2 separate regions of the Homo sapiens genome follow, and region 2 is linked to region 1. The links are contacts of gene promoters, found by promoter capture Hi-C in human tissues and cell types (Jung and others, 2019). All regions are on one chromosome and are shown on one strand. The core of a region is centred on a gene start or on the middle of the fragment in contact, and the rest is flanking DNA. Distances in the headings are between cores, read along the strand shown. Region 1 holds the start of ADH1B (alcohol dehydrogenase 1B (class I), beta polypeptide). Region 2 holds the start of ADH5 (alcohol dehydrogenase 5 (class III), chi polypeptide).

Region 1 (3,942 bases), core at 716-3,215:
CTGCTAATCTGTAATCCCTTAAAGAGGAGACACCAGATCTTCTGGATTATGGGACTGCTCATAGAACAGTGCGTGTCCTAACATAAAGGAGCACAAGAATTCAACAATCTTTCATTAAACACCTATTGTACACATGAAACTAGGTACAGTTGAAGATTTAAATGAAATTCAAGAACATCTCTGACCAGAAATTTCCAGTAGAACTTAGGAGACTGATCTCTACACTAAATATAAAGGCCACAAAAGAGAATGGGCCCTAAAACCACAGGAGGGATGCTAGTATGACAGGGATGGAAAGAAGTGAAGCATGACTGTGAGATGGCGTTAACATATCTCCACAAGGGCGACCTTGTCCTAGATCTCAAAGTTTGGGGAGGATTTGAATGGGCCAGAGGGACAGAAAAGAAGAGAAAAAGCATGATGAGCAAGAGCTTGAATGAGGAATGGATTCCTCTTTGGAGGACCACAGAGATACATGCTTCTAAAGAGCATAGGCCCTGTATTGGAGAATGGTGAGGAATAGTTGGATGAGAAGGCTAAAGCCAGGTTATCTGGGGCTATCTTCTTTCCGTCATACCTTTCCAAACTAGAAGCAACTAAAATCATAGGACCTCCTTTGCTTTCTATTGGGTGAATGTTTCTCAGTCTTGGTGTGAGTCTCAGTGCCTACATAATTAAAGCTTACTGAAATGTTCCCTTGGCAATTTTAGAGAAATATGTCCTCTATGCTAACATGTTCATATTGACAGACTATATCTAATTAAATAGTTGCCTGTATAGTTTTATGACGCCTCCAAGTGTGGATAAAAGAAAAATCAAACTCCTATGCTTGGAAAGCCATGAGGATACTAGCTACATTGATCAAAGGGTAATGGAAATGATCCAGTGAGGATTTTGCTCCATTTCTCACAATTATTTAAAATCTGCCACAAATGCCTGTTCCTCTACAATGCCTCCCCTGAGTCCTTCATTCTGAATAGCAACTCTGTCTCTGTTCCCAAAGCATTAACTGACCCCTGTGATAGGGCACTTCCCAGCCAGGCTGATATGTAGACTTGGTTTCCTGCGTGTCTTTTCACTATAAACTGTGAGCTTTCTTTCATGAATAATAATTGTAGCTAACATTTAGGAGGGTGCTCCTATCTGCAAAACTCCATGATGAGTGCTTTACAAGGATTATTTCATTTATTCACAAACAGTCCTTTAAAATGACGCCATTATTCATCTTCATCTCACAGATAAGGAAATTAAGGCAAAAAAAATTCAGTGAAATAATAAGTCCAAGTACACAGAACAAGTAAGGAACTGGGTTGGCCTGGTCCCACAAGCCATGCCATCACCGCTGCCCCATACTGCCTCTTGGCACAGGCAGAGGTCATGTCTTATTCATCACTGCTACTCCACTGGACCCAGCTTAGTGCCTGACACAGGGAGGTGTTCAGTCCATACATACTAGTTTTGAGTGGAGCAGAATTGCCAGGCACAGTGATCCCCTTTGCTGTGACTAATTGGGTGTCTGATTCTCTGCTGTAAAGACAAAGAGGCTGCTCTCTCTATCCTACTTCGTTTTTCCTGTTTTCTTACTCTTCTTCCTTCCTCGCCACCCCATGTGCATTCAAAGTTGCAGCTTAGTGCAGACAAAGGGAATACAAGGCAGAACGACCTATGTGGGATTGAAAGAAGAGAAACAAGGAATTCCAGAGGCCGGGGGGGGGTGGGAAGTGAGGAAAAGAGAAAGTGATTACAATTTATCACTTTAACTTAATATTTAAACTAATGAAAACAAAATCTTATCTAGAATTTGGAAGTCAATATTTTGATTGCTGGTTCAGTACCCTTTTATCTGTTTTGACAGTCTGGGAATAATCCAGTGGGTGTGGCTTAAAGACATAGATCACGTGTGGAATTGGAATTGGATGTTACACAAGCAAACAAAATAAATATCTGTGCAATATATCTGCTTTATGCACTCAAGCAGAGAAGAAATCCACAAAGACTCACAGTCTGCTGGTGGGCAGAGAAGACAGAAACGACATGAGCACAGCAGGAAAAGTAAGCAAAAAATATATTACTGTTGGTAATATATTCTCATCAATATAACAAAGAAAGGAATACAGTATTTGATGAATAATTTAAAATTCATATCTAAATTAGAAATGATATGCTGAAATATGATATGCAATATACACCTCAATATGTAATGTATACTGAACTGCAGTGGAAATAAGCTATTCTTAAGTACCTTTAACAGGAATGTATAGAACCTGTGTCTATTAGTCTTTATTTCCTACATTAAATAAATTTACAGTAAAATGATAGTTTATTCCAAGCTAATCATGACTGATTTGTAAATCTAAAGTTAGAAAAGTCTTTAATGGCAAGTTATCTTTATAATAAGAAACCATAATTCAAATGTGTTATTATTTTTATTCAAATTTTTTATGAACACAGGAAAGTTGTCTGACAGAAGTTTGATGAGAGGAATTTGACTCAGAAGACTGAAATATCCTTTAACCTTACTATAAAATATCTTACAAAATACTCATTGATTTCACAGCATTAGAATCATCAAGGTTAAGCAAGACATCAACATGCAAATTCTGATTAAAAGGGGTCCATTATGATACAATTCAGGGAATTTCCACAAAAATCCTATGGAACAGTATCTTCCCCATTTAAAAGTTAATATGGTTTTACAGAAAATCAATGATACAATTTGAATAATAATACAATTTGAATCACTTAGCACTAGGAATACAGATATTTGGTTTTTTCTTCTATAAATTTGTACTTATTTGCTCAATGTGTTTACAGGTGCATGTGGTCATTCAATATAATCAATTGATTTTTTTAATTGTTTAATTACATAAACCTGTGCAACTATGTCCAGTCCTTTTTTTGTGTTAGGAGTGTACCACACTGTAAAATATCTCACTATGATAATTCAATTTAAAGGTTCTGAGGCTTCTCTCTGCATTGTGTGACAAACAGGCTCATATCAATAAGACTGGTTGATGGAGCTAGAGGACGTTATTCTAAGTAAAGTAACTCATGAATGGAACACCAAATATCCAATGTTCTCACTTAAAAGTGGTAGCTAAACTATGAGGACACAAAGGATGAGAATGATATAATGGACTTTGGGGACTGAGGGAAAAGGGCAGTAGGAGGAATAAGACATAAAAGACTACATATTGGGTTCAGTCTACACTGCTTGTGTGAGGGGTGCACCAAAATATCAGAAATCACCACTAAAGAACTTATCCGTGTAACCAAAAACCATCTGCACCCCAAAAACTATTGAAATTAAAAATTAATCAATGAATAAATTTTAAGATAAAAATAATGCATGTAATTTACCCAGCACAGGTCACAATGTGCCTGTCACATCATAAGCACCTCATAATAAGAATCTTCCTACTATTAGTACCTTCTGTCTAAGTATTCTGGTATTTATTTTGGCATTGACCATGTTGAACATCCTACAAAGTTGAAAATTTTGACAAATAAATAATGAAAATGAATTGGCAGAAAAATAAATCTCAATTGAATTTTTAAATTATATTTGCAATTATGTTGGTTCTTTCTAGAAAGGGCTCTGCGAATTATACATGCTTTACCACAACGAAGATGGGTTTTACAGTACACTGCCAAGCACTAGAAATATATGCTGAACTTTATTTTTAAGAACATCTATGGATAAGCTCTGCTAAACAGAAATCCAAGCACACTGTTTCTCCAGTTTTAAAATATACATGCGTGGGTCTGAGTGTATACACACACACACACGTGCACACACACACACCACCAACTCTAATCTCTATAATATTTGGCTCAAATCTAAGCTGAAAGAAGTCTCTACACATAAATTAGATTACAAAACAGGCTGCCAAAGCTAAGTTTCAAATGAGTAGGAAACAAGTAGCACACAGAAGTAGTGGA
Region 2 (3,994 bases), core at 1-2,500, 230 kb after region 1:
ATCTGTAATTTGCAAGTCTTATCTACGATAACTGCTGTAAAGTTACACGGGGAAGCCCTTTCCCGACAAAAAAAACGAGTTCTGCAACAAGTCCGTCGGATTTTAGCAATGAAACCGGCGCCGTGCAGCCTCGCCGGCGAGTGCACCCTGGAACGCACAACTTAGCGGCACGCACCACAGCTCGAGCACCGCCCTTCCGGTTGGAGCCATTGCAAGCCCCCCCCACGCCCCGCCCCCCTCGCTAGGCGCTCGCCACGCCCATGCCTCCGTCGCTGCGCGGCCCACCCCGGATGTCAGCCCCCCGCGCCGACCAGAATCCGTGAACATGGCGAACGAGGTAGGGCCCGTTGAGCGGAGGGCCCTGAGTCCAAGGGAGGGAGTGCATGGCATGGGACTAGGCTGCTATCCTCGGGGGCGCGCGAGGCTCGGCGCCCAAGACGGGATCTGGCTCTTGGTTCTGAAACTGGGCCCCCAGCGAGCGGCTCAGAGGGGCAGAAAGAGAAGGAAGCTTTGTCTCGGCTCTTCAGTTGGGAAGCAGCTTTCTTTGCTGCTTCTGGGACAGTCGGAACGGGGTGGGGGGGTGGGAGAGCCGGAGAGTGGGGGGCAGGGGCTGGTCAGGTCGGTATCCCAGTGGAAATGGCTTAGGAGCGGCCACGCATTGCTTCTTACACGAAATTAAGTAACTCGCTCTGGGTCATTCTTGCAGCTTGCATACTTGGCAGAGCTGCAGCCAGATCCCGTGCTTCTAACTCCTAGGTTGCTTGTGTTGCATAATTGAGCCTACGCCTTAATTATTGTGCCTCCAAGGAGTGTATTTTGGAAAGACCCCTACGTCCCTTTCAGAAACATTTTCGAGCACTTAAATACCAAGAGATTTATATTCCCTCTAGTCCTCACGTAACAAACACCTCTGCGAGGTGTTATCCCCATCTTACCAAAAACTGAGGTTTGAGGTTGGTTGTGCTTGGTCACACCAACGATGGCGAGCTGGGATTCCGACCCAGGTCTGCTCCTCTATGACAAATTCATAAAATACAAATTAGACAGTAAAGAAAGGCAGAAATTACGAATAACATACTCAGTCTAAAGTTGCTGATTATTTTAATGTTTTGCAATTTTGGACATTTTCTAGTAAGACAAATGGCCTTAAACATATTGGAGTTTGAAAGAAATAAACTCTAAACAGTCTTTCAGACTTAAACTGGTAGTTGCTTTTCCTTATTACTGAGTGTCTTTATTCAGAGAAGGTGAAAGATTATAATTGTTACTATAGTTCAAATGTTGAAGTAGGGCCATTTCCCGCGGATTTAGAGTGGGGCTTTGTTTTGCTTAGAATTGTCAGTAAAAGGAAAAGGTTAGGCTCCATTAAGACATTTTTTAAAGGGGAGCAGGCCATCAAATTTAGTATTCTTGTTTCTTTGGATTCCTATGTTGCATAACTTAATTGTTAGTATTCTGAATCTGACTTGTGGAGTTGAAATTTATGGCACATTGAAATGAAAAAGGTTCTAATGCAGTGTCTGATTCTTTGTACTATGAGATTTAATATCTGCAATTTAATTTTAAAAACGATCATTTCCACATTTCCAACCTCACCAATTTACAGAGGCCATTTCCCTCCCCCCCCCCTCCCCCGCCAGTTCAGACGGAGTTTCGCTCTTTGTTTCCCAGGCTGGAGTGCGATAGCGCGATCTTGGGTCACTGCAACCTTTGCCTCCCGGGTTCAAGCGATTCTCCTGTCTCAGCCTCCCGAGTAGCTGGGATTACCGGCGCCCGTCACCATGCTCGGTATTTTTGTATTTTTAGTAGAGACGGGGTTTCGCCATAGTGGCCAGGCTGGTCTCCAACTCCTGACCTCAGGTGATCCGCCCATCTCGGCCTCCCAAAGTGCTGGGATTACAGGCGTGAGCCCCTGCACCCGGCCTACAGAGGCCATTTTTTATATCTCTATGTAGTTCACCTCTCCTTTCCCTCAACCGTTTGTTCTGTTGCTACCAATAACTACTAACTTATTTTGCAAAGCTATGCTGTGCCAAGGATTGTGTTAGGGACTTCATATTCTTTTTTTTTTTTTTTTTTTTTTTTTGAGACGCAGTCTTGCTCTGTCACCCAGGCTGGAGTGCAGTGGCGCGATCTCGGCTCACTACAAGCTCCGCCTCCTGGGTTCACGCCGTTCTCCTGCCTCAGCCTCCCCGGTAGCTGTGACTACAGGCGACTGCCACCTCCCCTGGCTAATTTTTTGTATTTTTAGTAGAGACGGGGTTTCACCTAGCCAGGATGGTCTCGATCTCCTGACCTCGTGATCCGCCCGCCTCGGCCTCCCAAAGTGCTGGGATTACAGGCTTGAGCCACCGCGCCCGGCCAGGGACTTCATATTCTTTCTTATTCAGTTCTCACAATCACCCTATATGTAGGTGTTTTACCACCATTTATAATTACCTTTTCCTCATCCTTCAGTATCCTGGTTAGAAGTGAAGCTCTCCCAAACCAAGCAAAGTTACACTCTTAACCTACTTTTTTTGCTTTCTGTATTACTTTGTGCCTGTCTCTTTAAATCACACTCTTTGTAATTATTAACTTTAAAGTCTGTCTCCTGTAAACCCAGTGGCTTACAACCTTTAGTCTGTCCACACATTTCTCAAGTGTAATGTAAACTAATTAGAACCTTTCTCATTACGTGTGATTCTCTTGTAATGGAGGGTATACATGACTATAATCTCTAAAGCAGGTCTGTGTGCTATAATTAGTCACGTGTAATTTTAAATTTTCAGTAGCCTCATTAAAAAGGAAAAAGTGAAGTTTTAATATTTTAATTATGTTAAATTACATTATTTATAATGTTGTTATAAATAAACTACCATTTCAACATGTAAGCAGTATTTTTAAAAATACTGTTGATGAGATATTTTTACTTTTCTTTGAACTAAGTCTTCAAAGTCCAGCTATATTTATAGCATATCTCAGTTTTGTTTGTTTGTTTGTTTGTTTTGAGACGATGTCTCGCTCTGTTGCCCAGGCTGGAGTGCAGTGGCACAATCTCGGCTCACTGCAACCTCCACCTCCCGGGTTCAAGCCATTCTCCTGCCTCAGCCTCCTGAGTAGCTGGGACCACACAGATGCGCACCACCATGCCCAGCTAATTTTTGTATTTTTGTAGAGATGAGGTTTCACCATGCTGGCCAGGTTGGTCTTGAACTCCTGACTTCATGATCTGCCCACCTTGTCCTCCCAAAGTGCTGGGATTACAGGCGTGAGCAGCCAAGCCCGGCCAGTGGTCATTTTCTAAGAGCTCAGTAGTCATATTTGGCAAGTGGCTGCTGTATTGGCCGGTGCAGTTACAAGGGATATAGCTCCTCACTGTTACACTCCTAATCCTCCTTCCCACCCTGCAGTTTTGCACCAAGCCGGTGGTATTCAGAACAGCCTGAGCAAAAGAATTTCTTCAGGCATATGTTAAGCATGCAGATTTCTTGGACCCCATGCCAGACCTGCTGAATCAGATTCTCTCGGAACTTGTGTTCTTAACCTGCTTTTGCATATGCACTGTAGAAGGCCATTAAATATTTGATGAGTACAACTTTTTAACCAAAAGATACTTTTCTATCTGACCAGGTAATCATCTCAATTAAATCATTTTTGATGTATACTATTTGTGTGAAATCTAAAAACATATCACTTGGAAGCATATGTTTCTTTGTGAATCTGTGATATACTTTTTAAGATTAGCATTAATCTGTATCTAAATTGGCTATTAAGTAGTTACTTGTTTAGGAGGATAAACAGCTTATTCCCTTTTTTCCCCACTTCAGGTTATCAAGTGCAAGGCTGCAGTTGCTTGGGAGGCTGGAAAGCCTCTCTCCATAGAGGAGATAGAGGTGGCACCCCCAAAGGCTCATGAAGTTCGAATCAAGGTAATGATACATTTAAGGCACTGGGAAAAAAAGAGACACAATGAGGTCTCTGGATAGATGAGTAGATCTGAGATCTGCAGAGG

Evidence for each region. The method cuts DNA at HindIII sites, captures the fragments that hold promoters and counts their contacts. A contact is called where the count stands out against the background at its distance.
Region 2: a fragment that was not itself captured here is called in contact with the fragment with the promoter of ADH1B in region 1 in 1 of the 25 tissues and cell types used here (H1 embryonic stem cells).

The regions. Positions count from the first base shown.
Region 1 is chr4:99,319,424-99,323,365 of GRCh38, reverse strand. ADH1B (alcohol dehydrogenase 1B (class I), beta polypeptide) reads left to right here and starts at 1,965. Exons shown (of 9, transcript NM_000668.6): 1 at 1,965-2,052. The coding sequence starts at 2,035. RefSeq lists an enhancer at 1,693-1,799 and a promoter at 1,693-1,999. The HindIII fragment of the contact is 12,641 bases long and covers 1-3,942 here.
Region 2 is chr4:99,085,032-99,089,025 of GRCh38, reverse strand. It overlaps ADH5 (alcohol dehydrogenase 5 (class III), chi polypeptide), which reads left to right and starts at 238. Exons shown (of 9, transcript NM_000671.4): 1 at 238-337; 2 at 3,810-3,911. The coding sequence starts at 326. LOC100507053 (a long non-coding RNA gene) reads right to left here and starts at 169. Exons shown (of 10, transcript NR_037884.1): 1 at 1-169. RefSeq lists a silencer at 206-255 and a promoter at 1-293. The HindIII fragment of the contact is 9,272 bases long and covers 1-3,994 here.